5 separate regions of the Homo sapiens genome follow, and regions 1, 2, 3 and 5 are each linked to region 4. Evidence: promoter capture Hi-C in 16 types of primary human blood cells and fetal thymus (Javierre and others, 2016). All regions are on one chromosome and are shown on one strand. The core of a region is centred on a gene start or on the middle of the fragment in contact, and the rest is flanking DNA. Distances in the headings are between cores, read along the strand shown.

Region 1 (3,047 bases), core at 366-2,865, 360 kb before region 4:
TGGGTACTCTTTAAAACATCTATTCTTTGGCAGGAAAATTAGCTCATTAGAACAATGACACCATTAAGGGACATTATAAGGGTCCTGGGGCTGAGGTGGGAAGATTTTTCTATCTGCCCCATATAGTTTACCCTTCCTTGCCTTGAAAATGAATATTATAGAACAGAGTACAGCTCTTAAAAGTTATTAGTATCATTATTATTATAGTTGTTATATAATACTTTAATTAAGAAAGATGAAAACCTTTTTTCTTTCCTAAGTCAGCCCAATGGTGCTATTTTACATATCAACACAGTTGAAAGGAAGTACTGTTATTTTGGGCTGCAGTGTTTCCTCCACATCTAAAGAAAGCCCATTTTGAAACTGGATACTGCATTAAAACAAAGAAGGAAAAATTATTTTAACTGTGTGCAGTTTTTGAAATTAGGCATTTGTACTATTTTGGTTTTACATAATTCTCTTGCATTAACAATTTACTGTTTTGTGAATCATGTGTACTAAAGCAAATTAAGAAAAAGAAAATAATTATCTGTGAAAGACTTTGTATATTAAACAAGTGACGCAAACCTTAGTTGTGGTTTCCACAATTTTTGCCTAACAGACTGATATTTGTATTTGCAACATCCAAACACACATACATTTTTTAAGATTTTACAAGGGTCTGAACATATAATTATTTTAAAGCAAACCTACGTTGACTAACTCATGACATGGTACAAATAAATAAATACACAAACAGAGGGAAACCAATGAAAATAAACTATGTGGACTTTCAAACCTGCTTTAAAAAAAGAGTTCAAGAGAAATCACAATGTAATCTAAAGCGGGACTGTCTCAAGAATAAGTCTTGGATATAGAAAAATAAGCATATAACAGCATTTTTCTGTTCAGAGATAATAGTGGATTCAGATAATTGCATGGATAATAAACATTAAAAGCAAGATATTAGAATCTAAGAGGTTTGGTGATAGCAAAAAACAAAGCTGTTTCCAAATGTCCAACTTCTAAGGACCTACAGGGCTTTCTACCAGTCTGCTAATTATATGAGCCAACTCCTCTGCCCAAAATGGAAATCTGAACTTAACACCCTCCCTCACCACCAGAAATTATAGCAAACATTCCTAGATCATTAATCACTGTCATTATGTGTCCAGTGATCCTAAACTGGGTGCTGTGATAGAGATTAACCAAGAGTAGCAAGGGTGTGGGGGTAGAGATGCTTTAGATAGAGAGAACACTTTTAAGCTCAGACCTAAAGGAAGAGAGAACAATCAGTTATTGTTGGCCTTGCAAAAGCTCAGGGGAATGGCAACGCAGGAAGAGGGAATGGTAAGTACCAAAATCCCGAATGGGAAATGTCAAGCAAAGGCTGATGGATTCGGCCAGTAGAGAAACAGGCCCTTGTAAGACTGTTTTATTACAGTCATCCCCCCAGTATGTGTGGAGGACTGGTCCCAGGACCTCCTTCAGATACCAGAATTCATGGATGCTCAAATCCCTGATATAAAAATGGTGTAGTATTTGCATATAACCTATGTATACCCTCTTGTATACTTAAAATCATTTCTGGATTACTTATAATACCTAATACTATGGAAATAGTTGTTACAATGTATTGTTTAAAGAATAATGACAAGAAACAATTCTGCATGTTCAGTACATACTTTTTTTTTTCGGACTATTTTTCATCTGTGGTTGGTTGGATCCAAGGATGCAGAACCCTTAGATAGGGAGGGTCAACTGTACTTACACAGACAGTAAGATGCAAAGGTGCGGCCTTCCCGTATGTCTTGTCCTACAGAAAGACACAAACAGAAAAGGGCCAGATGAACTGGTAGTGCTACATAAGGGGAAGGACACTCTGTTGCTGAGATGCTGAGTCCATGCTGCAGCTAAGTATTATATTAGATTGGTGCAAAAGTAATTGCGGTTTTTGCCATTAAAAGTACTTTTAAAAAAAAAAATGACAAAAACTGCAATTACTTTTGCACCAATCTTGAGTCATTAGTTTTATAGGCTGCAGCTCTATGCTACAGTGACTCGAGGTAGAGTCTCAGAGTTCATCAGAACCCAGGTGATGACAAATTGTCTCACTATCTCCTTCCCAGAAGATCAGGAGGCAAATGATATCCTCCATATCCCCATGCTCTGGGAAGATTATAGGACAGTCTTCCAAGGCTCAGTCAGGTCATCCGCAGCAAAACCCTGCCCAGCTGTGGATCAAGTGGACACACACAAGGCCATCAGGGTGCTGGCAACAGGAGCAAGAACAGTGGCAAGAAGGCCAGTTAAGAAGCTACTGCACATAGGACAGGCAAGACATGGCGACTTTGGTAAGGATGAAAAGTGAGACTGCCTGACACGGGCCAATTTGATTTTCATTTTGGAAGTGGAATCAGAAATACTCGCTAATTAAATTATATTGTGGGAAGGCATAGAAGAGAGAAAGTGAAAAATCAAGGATGATTTTACAGGCAGATTCCTGGCTTGAGAAATTGCGTGAAAAACTTAGAAAAATCAGGTTTCTGAGAAAATAAGGAGTGGGAAACAGAACATAAGTAGTATTTTCCTTTGAAAGGAAAAAAAAAGATATATCCATTAAATCAAAAGAAAGTGGTAATTTGTATTTTCTCAAAGATGTATAAAAAGCCAAGGGCTGAACATTGAGAAGGCTAGTATTCAAGTCAAGCTAGAAAAAAATATAAAAAAGTAGTAAAATAATTATCTCAAAGTTAGAAAATGAACTTAGTAGGGGAACATAATAAGATCACTAAGCAGTACTGAGAATCCACTTGAGATTTGCAAACATCAGTATGAAAATGGTCTGTTTGATATTCTCCAGCGATGTTGAGCTGCGTGAGAACAGGCATGAAGGAAACATAGCTGTTACTTGGTTTGGGTTCTGAAAGAGAAATAACTAGAGTCAGAGACAAGGAATTCAGGGTATATGCAAGGAAGCAACTATGAACTTGAAGCTAAGCTCAACAAGACAGATGATGCGTAATGAGAGTGAGGTCAAAGTGCAGAACTTCAGCAATGAAGAGGAG
Region 2 (2,979 bases), core at 238-2,737, 430 kb before region 4:
CCAAGTAGCTGGGACTACAGGCACATGACACCACACTCCGCTAATTTTTTTTTTATTTTATTTTTAGTGAAGACAGGGTCTCACTGTGTTACCCAGGCGGGTCTCAAACTGAGCTCAAGCAGTCCTTCTGCCTTGGCCTCCCAAAGTGCTGAGTTTACAGGCATGAGCCACTCACTGGCTTATACCATATTTTCTTTCTCTATTGATAAGTTGATGGACATTTAGGTTGTTTCCGTAGCTTCACTCTCAAACTGAGCTCAAGCAGTCCTCCCGCCTTGGCCTCCCAAAGTGCTGAGTTTACAGGCATGAGCCACTCGCTGGCTTATACCATATTTTCTTTCTCTATTGATAAGTTGATGGACATTTAGGTTGTTTCCGTAGCTTCACTCTTGTCAATAATGCTGCAATGAACATGGGAGTTCAGATACCTATCTGAGGTCCTGATTTCAATTCTTCTGGATACTTAGACGTGGGATTGCTCGCTCATATGGTATTTCTATTTTTAATTCTTTGAAAAACCTCCACACTGTTTTCCATAGCAGCTGCACCGTTTTTATTCCTAACAGCGTACAAGGGCTCCAACTTCTTCACATCCTCAGGAGCATTTATCTTGTTTGGGTTTGGGTGTGTGTGTGTGTGTGTGTGTGTGTGTTTGTGTTTTGATAATAGCCATTCTGATGGGTGCGAGGTGACATTTCACTGTGACTCTGATTTGCATTTCCCTGATGATTAGTGATTTTGAACACCTTTCTATATAGCTGTTGACCATTTGTATGTCTTCTTTGGAGAAATGTCTTTTTAGCTCCTTTGCTCATTTTTTAATGTAATCTTAATTTTTTATTTAAATTATGTAGTGGGTTCCTACTCAACTAAATACAATTAAAGTTAGTTTGTGTGTGTGTTTGTGTGTGTGTGTGTATTGGCACTGGTTGAGGGAAATACCAGGCTCTGTGTAATCTTTATTTTTCAGCATGATATCTCCCTACTAAAGTAATTAATTGTATTATTATATCATATAATAATAATGTGGTATTATTGTATATACTAAATAAATATACTAAATATATACTAAATATTGTATTTAGTTGGAGTAAGAACTTTCATGCTCTTTTCATACTTGGCCACATAATGTTACCAAATTACCCAGTCAATCCTACTTCTAAGCATTGACTGAAAACATCTTCTATGCCTAGTATATTCTACCAACATCCTTCTCCATCTGCCATAATTCTACCCCAGCTTCAATTCCAATTCCCATGCCACATCTTCCATTAAACTTTCTACCCTCCCCCGGTCCCCAATCTGAGATGATCTTTCACTCCTTTGCATACAACAGCACTTGACATGGCACACATCCCATTTTAAATGTATCCTGTCTAATTTTGCAGTTGTCTGATGCATAAACTGTCAATATAAACTTCTTAAAGGAAAAAGACTGAGACTAATTCATCTTTATATTTACCATAGGACCTTATAAAACCTTGCATATATACATAAGCAACAAATTACTTGTTGACTGAATGAATGAATGAATGAGTGAATAAATGAATAAAAGTTGATCATTCTTCACTCAATGTGGTTGGAACTGCTGTAAAACATCAGTATTTTGTACTTACTTGCCTTTGTAGAAGAATTCATATGCAAAGGCGTATTTCTAATTCAATGCATTTTTGGTTATCTGTAAATAAAGTGCCTGCTTTGTCAATTATCCATGGCAACTTGAGACTTTCTTTGATGTAATGCTCAGCCAGATAAGATTAATGAGTGGACAAAATTGGAAGGAAGTCATGGTTGAGGATGAGCTTAGAAAAATTCAAACACCTAGCCATCACAAAAAAAAGATCAGAAAATCAGTTTGAATTAAGAATTTCTGCCACATGCAGAAATGAAAAAGGCTAAAAGGTTATAACTGCATAATTTTTCTGATAGCTGTTATTATGTATATACAAAAGCCTTCTCCTGTATCTGACCATATATATTTCTTTGATTATAGCTACATATTAAAGCCAAATGAGTTTTTATTATCTGTCCCTTTGTTTTGCCTTTTTACTTCAATGTATGCAGCTAACAAAAATTTAGCCTAATAACTGTAAGCACATTTGCTTAGAAATATCTCTAGTTTAATTTTGTCAGTCTTACAAATGCACCCAAAAAGACCTCAAAGCTGATATAAAATGAATATTTATGACATATGCAAATGTAGAGAAAATCATAACCTTCGGATATTCGTTCAATATATATTATCTATTTACTTATCCACAAGTCATCAAAATTGTAAGGTAGGATCTGGAAAGATAAATGGCACTGGGGAACTCATTTCCTTTATGCAGAAATACATGGTCCTCTGAGCTAACCAATGAGTATAGAGAGGGCAGTAAAGCGATGGTTAACAGGGAAGGGATTATCCTAAAAGATGCAATCCAGCTTTTGATTTCTCCTGATTTGGAGGATTTGGACAGTCTGAGCTGATCTTAAGATTGCTAGATATACTGACTGGGACTCCTAGGGGCTACACACATCAATAGAGGGAATGGGGGAATCTTAATGTGTTTCAAGAGCCCATGGAGACCTCTCAGATAGTCTTCAAAGAGGCTCCGGCCCACTATGAGACTGAACCACTAGGCTAGATGATAATAGAATCTCAGTGGGAATCCTCAGTCCCAAGCAGAATTTAAAGTCCTAGTATCAATGGCATCGAACCATCTCCAGAGGGGATGAGACACCCAAGAGAAGCAATTCCAATAGAATCTTCCCAATCCATTGCAGAATTCAATGTCTGTGAATTCAAATAAGACTTGGCCTCCTCTGCTTTCATTATTGACCAAGCAAGGTGATCATTATCTTCTTCTCCACTGTTTTCCATCAGTGTGATGTCTGGTGGTGAAAAAAAAAAAAATGTGGCTGATTACTTGCGACTCTTGGATCAGCTCCAGGAATAGAGTTAGGAAAGCCAGGGACATTGCCATGTCATTGTCTTTG
Region 3 (3,055 bases), core at 30-2,529, 500 kb before region 4:
TACAGATACAATGTCTTTATTCTAGCATGTTAGGAACTTAAAACATGATTTTTAGATTCAAATCCCCTCCTTACAGAATCTGGCTTGTTCCTAAGTAAGTCTGAGGGCAGCTGAGTTCTCTGTAGGTGGGGCACTGACTGGCTAGGGTGTTGGGGAAATCTCCTCCATTTCTTCAAAGAAAACATTTTAAGTTTCATCTCTTTTATATTTAAGCATTCTTTGTCATGTTTAATTTGGAAAAAGGGGCCTCTCTGCCTTAGAATTTTTTTTGAAAATCATTGATATGAACTGCATACATTATTTTAAAATAGTATCCAGTTACTGTATTTCAAAGTATCTTTTCATTAACTTGATCTTCTGTATACATCTGGGAATGTACTGAGCAATCTGTTCTCAGCAAAATCATTATATATGCTGTGAAAATTACATGTGGGAGTACATTTATTATTTTCTCAGGAAAAGGCAAATAGAGATGGTCTTACACATGTTCTTTGCTTTAAACTTCTTCCTGTTTGTTTCTTAAACATTTTGTCAGGCTTTTACAGCATTGAAAGTGCCTTTAGATTCCATTGCCTATGAAAAATAGGGTAGTGAGAGTACTCGGTTTATTTTTCAGTGTCCAACCTCCAGTTAGACAATGCAAATTCATGTATCACAGCTGATTGCATTTGTCAGCTGTTTGATGTTTTTGGCAGTTTTTTTTTTTTAGCTGCCCCATTTTTTCAAGTACATGAAAGCTTTGACATAACTGTGTTAATAGCTCAAAGTTCTGATAAACAATCTAGTAGTAAGAGGCTAATATTAAAGCCTAAAGATTTTTAGTTTCTATCAATTTTTATATACTTGATTCTCACTTCTGAATATGAGATCATAGATATTAGCATGAGCTTATAGATATTAGTCTATGTTGAAATCAGAAAGTTTCAGACATAGAAGAGATCTGGGGACACAGCATGTTGGAGAGAGCACCGCGCCAGGAGAGACGTGGCCTTAGCCCTGCCACCTATTGCTCACTCTTGGGTTAGTCATTTATCCTCCACAAGCTTCAGCTCCCTTGCCAGTAAAACCCATGATTGCAAAGATGAAAATAAGACAATTAGAGACAAGCAATGTTGCAGACGAGATGATCCAAAATCATTCAGAATATAAAAACATAGAAATGCTAGATAAAAATATAACAAATGTCCTTATTTATACTCAGCTGTGCTAGGAAAAAGAAAAGAAAAATCTCCAGCAGTGAGAAAGGAAGAGAGAAACATAAGCCAGAGAAATTGGCCTGAGAGCTGACAGTGTGGCTGCCCTGGGGGGTGGTCAGTTGTGATCATCTAGTGGCAAGGGTGTCAGTGCCCAGGCAGAAACAGAAGATAAAGCAATGGGCCTGAGTGGGATGTACACTTAAACAGCCCTAAATCTAAAAAAAAAAAAAAAGATGATTTAAAATACTATAGTCTCTGTGTAAGCATCCACTAGGAAAAAATATCCAACTATCCACACAGAGAGATAAAAAGAAGCTTGACTTTTTATTTTGGCCTGAATTCTGTGTATACAAGAAAAAACAAATTCTCTGAGTAATGTAATCACAGACTTATATTACACTCCAGTTAGAAGGTTAAATTTGTATTGTTTGCATGACCTGGGAATCCCCTAGTTAAGAAACATTTTTTTTTTTCCAGGCCAATAATAACCCGTGGCAAACAAACACAATCTCTCTGAAGAAGGGGTGAGGTTACTGTAGTGCAGACAGTCGCATCCTTAGTGGTGATAAGACCTTGACTCCTCTTTCCCATATTTGCCTCGGAATGCCGGCCTTAGCGTGTGCCTTCAAACAAGAGATTGTACGATTTTTTTTTTTCTCAGTGAACTGACAAAACAGAAAGAATAGCTGCAGAATTGAGAAAATTTTCCCAAAAACAATCCGGCCTGAGTACCCTAGAGGGAAAGCCACCACTAGCCGGAGACACACATAGACCTAATCAGCTTTTGAGTGAGTGTGTAATACAACTAATATCCAGAGATCAACAGATATTTGAGGAAAATTTCTATCAGAGACAGAGAGAGATGGTAACAGACGGACTTAGAGCAAGTAGAGACAACTAAAGCCGCAGAGGGCTGAAAGGGAAGATTCTGGGACTAGAAAGGAATGTGCTTGGATATTACAAATATGAGAGCAGAAATAAAAAATAATTTGGAAGTTTGGGGGAAAAAAGGAAAAGAAAACTTCCAGAAAGTATGACAAAAAGAAAACAGAAGAGAAAGAGTTAGAAAATTTAAGAATTAATTCAGGAGTTTAAGCATCCAAATAATAAGAGTTCCAGGATGAGAGAACAAAGAAAACAATACTTGAAATAAGATGAATAAGAAATAAAAACAGTACTAGAAACAATAAGAGTTCCAGGATGAGACAGCAAAGAAAACAATATGTGAAATTTCATTATTTGAAATTATCAAGGAAATAATTAAAGAAAATATCCAAAAACTTAAAGACATAATTTCCAGATATCATGGACCAACTGTGTACCTAGCAAAATGAATGGTGGAAACAAATGCTACATCTTACACATACCAAAAAAGGAAGAAAAAAAAGATTTTATTCCAAGAATCAAGAATCAGGATGGCTCCAAACTTCTCATAACCCTGGAATTGTTTTTTAAAAAGGAGCAATTACTTCACATTTTTGAAATAAAGTTATTTCCAATCCAGAATTCTATATCCAGTCAACCATCAATTGAATGGCATGATAGCATAAAAATATTTTCAAAAATTAAAGTCTGTCCTACGCTATGTAATTAGATTTGTATAAAACTCTAGAAAATCCAAACTAATCTGTAGTATTAAGTAACAGGAAGAAATCAGCAGTTGCAAGGGGAAAAGGGAGAGGAAAGAAGATACACTGCATGGGCAAGAAAATACTTGTGGGTGATTGACACGCTCACTCACTTGACTATGTGGATGGTTTCAAACATCTACACATTTCTCAAAACCTATTAAATTGTATGCTTTAAATATGTTGTTTATTGCATGTCAATTATACATCAATAAAGCTATTAAAAACTTT
Region 4 (2,700 bases), core at 167-2,666:
AGTCAGTAACACCAAACACAAAATGGTAGAGCTGAGGCCTGAACACAGGTCTTTTTAGTTGAAAACTCTGAGCTCTGCTTAATCATTGTGCTAGTAAGTTCGTATCCCAAGTTTAAAGTCCTTCTTCACTTTGGAGGATTTCCATGAAATAGCCTACCAATCCTACTTCCCATTTCTGCTGCACTTGGATTTTCTATTTCATATTTCAAATATTTTTCTAGTTATCTCCTGTGCATTGCCCTTCTCTACTTCAAGTAGATTGTAAGCTTCTTAAAACCTTACTCTTATTACACTTGCCTTGCATTTCTATGAAGATCTACTGTTGTAGATGACACACTAAATTCTCAGTGAATAATTTATAAAATCTTTAGCACAGTCCTTGGCACATATGCATGTTTAACAAATGGTATCAATGATTATTATTACTACACAGGGACTGATGCCTCAAACTGAAGACCTAATAGGAAACCAGAAAATTCTGATCTCTTCCTCAGTCCTAAGAACTCTGCTTGCTTTCTCCACAATTTAGACTAGTGGTTTCCAACAATAAGTGAGTACATTTCAGTCTCATAGTCTCATCTCTCTACTACGAAACAGTGCTAAGTATGATATAGACATCACCATAACATGAACAACACAGCAAAATTTTGTCCATTACTGCTCTCTTTGAGGGTACTTTGGAGAAAGGAAAATGGAATAGTTGTAGTTACATTTTTGAAAAAATGGTTAATACCCTATCTATCGACAGATGGATCTATTGATGGATAAACTTCATTTAACTTTCATGAAGTTACTAGCGTCTTGTCAAGACTTCCTGGCTCAAGTTTCTGATGTACAGAACTTAGCATTCTTCAGGCACCCCCCTGTTGTATAATCCCTGCTTCATTTTGGCGCTTCAAGCAGAATTGGTTCACATGCAGCAATAGGAAAATCCGACATTCAGGCCTTGAATGGTTCACATGACGCAGTGAAAACGGTCGATTTAGGGCCTCCCTAGTCCTGATTATTTTTTTTTGAGACGGAGTCTCGCTTTCTCGCCAGGCTGGAGTGCAGTGGCGCGGTCTCGGCTCACTCCAACTTCCGCCTGCTGGGTTCAAGCGATTCTCCTGCCTCAGCCTCCCAAGTAGTGGGAATTACAGGCACGCGCCACCATGCCCAGCTAATTTTTGTATTTTTAGTAGAGATGGGGTTTCACCATGTTGGGCAGGCTGGTCTGTGAACTCCTGACCTTGTGATCCGCCCACCTCGGTCTCCCAAAGTGCTGGGATTACGAGCGTGAGCCACGGCGCCCGACCCCCTAATCCTGATTTTCGAAGATATGACGCATGTATCCTGCCCCCGCGAGCGCCGTCGCGCCGTCGCGCCACATACGTCACACGCTCTTCGGAAAGCGTTGCTGCGTAAATGGCGGGGGCGTGTCTTTTGGCTCCTCCGCGTGTAGTTACCTGAGAAACGCGGGAAGTTGGGCCCAGGCAGTGTTGCTGCGGTTGCCTAAGTTGTTTTTCTATTTCTGGAGAGAGCCGTGAGCTTGTCCAGGGGCCCCAATCCTGAGGCCGACCCGGTTTCTGGCGCGGTGCGATGGAGGTAGTGGAGGCCGCCGCCGCTCAGCTGGAAACTCTGAAATTCAATGGCACCGACTTTGGAGTTGGGGAAGGTCCGGCGGCTCCGTCTCCGGGCTCTGCCCCTGTGCCAGGGACACAGCCGCCGCTACAGTCGTTTGAGGGGTCCCCGGACGCTGGGCAGACCGTGGAGGTTAAGCCTGCCGGGGAGCAGCCTCTGCAGCCCGTTCTGAACGCCGTCGCGGCCGGGACCCCGGCGCCGCAGCCACAGCCACCGGCTGAATCGCCGGCCTGCGGAGACTGCGTCACCTCCCCAGGAGCCGCAGAGCCTGCGCGGGCGCCGGACTCCTTGGAGACCTCGGACTCGGATTCGGACTCGGACAGGTCGGGTGCCTAAGGGACCCGGAGCTGTGGGGAGAGGTCTTGTATGACGGGCGGGGGTGGCTGGGGCCTAGGAGCCTAGAGGTTGCTTGTGTGGGCCCTGGAGGGTGGGCAGGTCGTTGGTGCTCCGGGCTCACGTGTTGAAGTATTGGCTCCGACTGCCCCTTATTCGCTGCCTCTCAAAGCAGGTCGCGTTGTGAATCTGAGCTTAGTACTGACTTATTTCCTAAATTTGGTGGCCTGAAGGGTTCTATGTATAGATCGTATCATTTTTTGTTAGACTTTAGAAAACCCGAGGATCTTAGGTTATTTCCGTAACTACTCAGTTTAGGCTGTACTTTTGTGGTTATAGTTGAGTTTTGTGTCAGATCTGATTTTTTTTTATCATCACATCTAGGCTTTGTTTTTTGAACCACATACATTGGGGATCAGGAAAAGTATTATTTTTTGTGTTTCAAAGCTGGCTCTTGATGATTACGTTAATTTATAGAATCCTTGCAGGGAACACGTGTTTATGAAAGTAGCCAAACAGTGTTATTTAGTAGTATCTTATGCTTCTTACGTTTTGTGAGAGCCTTTCCCCCTTGCCCCCACACCTGTCTTTTAAATATGAAATCTCTGGGCTGGAGAGGACTCCAGCATGTGGGATGTTACTAAACCACACTGAACATTGTCTACAAATAGTTGAGTGTGTTGAGTGGGGTACTGAACAGGTTAACAAGATAGACACGTGTTGAGGAGGTGAGAAGTTTAGTTTTCA
Region 5 (2,781 bases), core at 24-2,523, 380 kb before region 4:
CGCTGCGTGCACACACTGTCTCAAGATGGTAGCTGTTAATTTGCTGTCTATATTTGGGTTGGTGATCTCCCAGGTCCATCTGGACACATGGCCCATTCCTCACTGTTTCCACTTGCAGTTCCTTTGGATTGCAGATCCTAATCTTTGGTGCAGTACAAGACCTTCTTGTACTGTTATCAGGAGAGACAGAGGAGCTGCACTTAATCAGAAAATAGTGTCCCCTCACATTGGGCCATGTACAAAAGATGTCAAATGATTATCACTGGTGGACCTAACGTGGAAGAGAACTAGGGGAGAAAATGTTTTTTTAAGGAAATGATAGACTCACAGAGCATTTATGGCTATTATATCTGAGGTTTTGACTCTTAGTAAGAAAGCCTTCATGTACATGCTTATCTGTAAAGGGACTTATATTAGTCCCTTTTTGCACTGCTCATAAAGACATACCTGAGACTGGGTAATTTATGAAGAAAAAGAGGTTTAATGGACTCATAGTTCCACATGACTGGGGAGGTCTCACAATCATGGCAGACAGTGAAAGGCATGTCTTACACGGCAGCAGGCAAGAGAGAGACCTCATGATCTAAAACCATCAGATCTCGTGAGACTTATTCACTACCACAAGAACAGTATGGGGGAAGCCATCCTGATGATTCAATTATCTCCTACCAGGTCCTTCTCATAACATTTGGGAATTATGGGAGCTACAATTCAACATGAGATTTAGGTGGGGACACAGCCACTATATTACTGTAATTCTGAGAGAACAAGTTTGCACTTGTGTACACTTCCTGATTTGTGTCCAACAGTGAGTGCCTTAACTAGTGAACTTTACCAGCTGCCTACCACCTACCTGGCTTTGTTGTTTCCTCCCTATCATCAGTTTTGTAGCAAATTTCACTAAAGGTCTGCAGAGGTCAAATTTTTCTGCTGGTCTTTTAAAATACATTTTTAAGAGGGAAATTATTTACCATAGGCATACCTCTGAACTTAAAGATTTATTAAGGTTCAAGAGTTACTCCTCATAATTAAGAGTCTGTTGTTTAGTTCTCTCCCAGAGTATTTGAAATTGTTACTAGTATAATTAGATTTTAATAGGCTTTTATGTTACCTAAACACTAATTTGAAAAGTAAAACAAAAAATGAAAGTTTGCTTTAGTGATTAATGAGCTAACTCTGAATCATTTCAGTTCAAATAAATGAATTATGTAATTTTTTTCAGTCGACCTGAAATATTTAAATCACAGCCAGAAAACAAAACTCATTTGTTGATTACCCTTTCCTGGACTACTAATTAGTTCATGACAGGGAGTGACAAGTACTACTTCTGATATAAACTCCACGGAGGTCACCGTGCAACTCTGCTAAGTGTCATCCTTTAGGCAGGTGGTTCTCTAACTGTAGCTTGCATCGGAATCACCTGAGGGCTTGTTAAAGCACATTACAGGGTCCCCATCGCCAGAGTTTCTGATTCCGTGAGTTTGGTGTGGGGCTCAAAATACTGGGTTTCTAACAAGTTTCCTGATTGCTGCTGCATCTGCTACTGGGGAACACTGAGAACCACTGCTTCATATGAATGGGTCCTCTAGAAATTTCTCCAGCATAGCAAGTCCAAGGATTTGTAAAAGGTTTACTTATTATCCTCCAGCACAACATATCTTACTAAGGCATGTAAATAATGTGATAACCTTTACACTTGCTGTTTCAGGTATTATTTTCGCTCGTCTGCAGCAAAATCCAATATGACAGGCAGAGCCAGTAAACAATTAAAATGTGGCTTTGCATTTATGCAAAATGACAGGAAGAACCTGCACACCTGGCCGGCTGGGAGCTCCTGGGTCTGGCGGTACCAAAAAAAAAAAAAAAAAGGGCTACCGTACTAGCTACTGTTTGGGCCTGGCGCCACCTGGTGGTAATTTTTTGGTCTATCATTCTATAGATTGAAAACTCTAGGTCACGTGACTGTTACGGAAGCTGGAAACCATAGGTGAACTGTCAAGAAAAAAGACGAAATGGATTTAATGGATTTGGCAAAGTAGTCCCTACCTCCTGCTTTTTTCTTTTCTTTTCTTTTCTTTTTTTTTTTTTTTTTTTGAGACGGAGTCTCGCTCTGTCGCCGAGGCTGGAGTGCAGTGGCGCGATCTCGGCCCACTGCAATCTCTGCCTCCCGGGTTGAAGCGATTCTCTTGCCTCAGCCTTCCGAGTAGCTGGGACTACAGTCGCCCGCCGCCACGCCTGGATAATTTTTGTATTCTAGTAGAGACGGGGTTTCACCGTGTTGCCCAGGTTGGTGGCGAACTCCTGCGCTCAGGCAATCCGCCCGCCTTGGCCTCCCAAACTGCTGGGATTACAGGCGTGAGCCACTGCGCCCGGCCTGCATTTTTATGTTATACAAATAAACTGCCTTTATTCTTCACTGGTATAAAGATTTAAACAACACTTTTCTGTGGGCAGTACTTTTAAATTTATATTTTAGGACAGAATATAATGCAAGTAATTTGAATTAGAAAACCTGACCCTATCATGCAAAGTTTGATTTAACTTCATCAAATAGACAATTTCACAGAAACAATGTTTGCATCAAGTTATACTACAATTCAGAAAAAACATACAGTCATATTTTTCTAAGTGAATAATAGAGTTCTGTTGGATTTCTTTCTATTGTTTAGTGGCTTCTGCAAAAAAAAAAAAAAAATCAAAAGCAAGAACAGTAAAACAGGCACCAAAGGCCCAGGGACTGTAAAGTCCAAAGCGAGGTTCAAGACTACCTATGCAGGAAGT

Evidence for each region. Contacts are between HindIII fragments. The CHiCAGO score rates a contact against its expected background, and 5 or more counts as called.
Region 1: a fragment that was not itself captured here is called in contact with the fragment with the promoter of NAF1 in region 4 in 1 of 17 cell types (fetal thymus); the score reaches 5.6 in fetal thymus.
Region 2: a fragment that was not itself captured here is called in contact with the fragment with the promoter of NAF1 in region 4 in 1 of 17 cell types (naive B cells); the score reaches 5.4 in naive B cells.
Region 3: a fragment that was not itself captured here is called in contact with the fragment with the promoter of NAF1 in region 4 in 1 of 17 cell types (total B cells); the score reaches 5.9 in total B cells.
Region 5: a fragment that was not itself captured here is called in contact with the fragment with the promoter of NAF1 in region 4 in 2 of 17 cell types (fetal thymus and non-activated CD4 T cells); the score reaches 6.2 in fetal thymus.

What each region holds. Positions count from the first base shown.
Region 1 is chr4:163,522,242-163,525,288 of GRCh38, reverse strand. MARCHF1 (membrane associated ring-CH-type finger 1) reads left to right here. Exons shown (of 10, transcript NM_001394959.1): 10 at 1-571. Among named protein-coding and RNA genes, the nearest start is that of TMA16, 29 kb to the right of the region's middle. The HindIII fragment of the contact is 3,665 bases long and covers 1-3,047 here.
Region 2 is chr4:163,592,433-163,595,411 of GRCh38, reverse strand. The region is part of intron 7 of MARCHF1 (membrane associated ring-CH-type finger 1); the gene reads left to right. Among named protein-coding and RNA genes, the nearest start is that of TMA16, 99 kb to the right of the region's middle. The HindIII fragment of the contact is 4,571 bases long and covers 1-2,979 here.
Region 3 is chr4:163,661,596-163,664,650 of GRCh38, reverse strand. The region is part of intron 5 of MARCHF1 (membrane associated ring-CH-type finger 1); the gene reads left to right. Among named protein-coding and RNA genes, the nearest start is that of TMA16, 170 kb to the right of the region's middle. RefSeq lists an enhancer at 353-432 and a silencer at 1,043-1,092. The HindIII fragment of the contact is 468 bases long and covers 1,046-1,513 here.
Region 4 is chr4:163,165,606-163,168,305 of GRCh38, reverse strand. NAF1 (nuclear assembly factor 1 ribonucleoprotein) reads left to right here and starts at 1,416. Exons shown (of 8, transcript NM_138386.3): 1 at 1,416-1,943. The coding sequence starts at 1,579. RefSeq lists enhancers at 1,463-1,662, 1,683-1,802, 1,833-1,912, 1,404-2,271. The HindIII fragment of the contact is 3,845 bases long and covers 269-2,700 here.
Region 5 is chr4:163,549,595-163,552,375 of GRCh38, reverse strand. All of the region lies in intron 8 of MARCHF1 (membrane associated ring-CH-type finger 1), which reads left to right. Among named protein-coding and RNA genes, the nearest start is that of TMA16, 56 kb to the right of the region's middle. RefSeq lists enhancers at 1,722-2,221, 2,222-2,723. The HindIII fragment of the contact is 8,219 bases long and covers 1-2,781 here.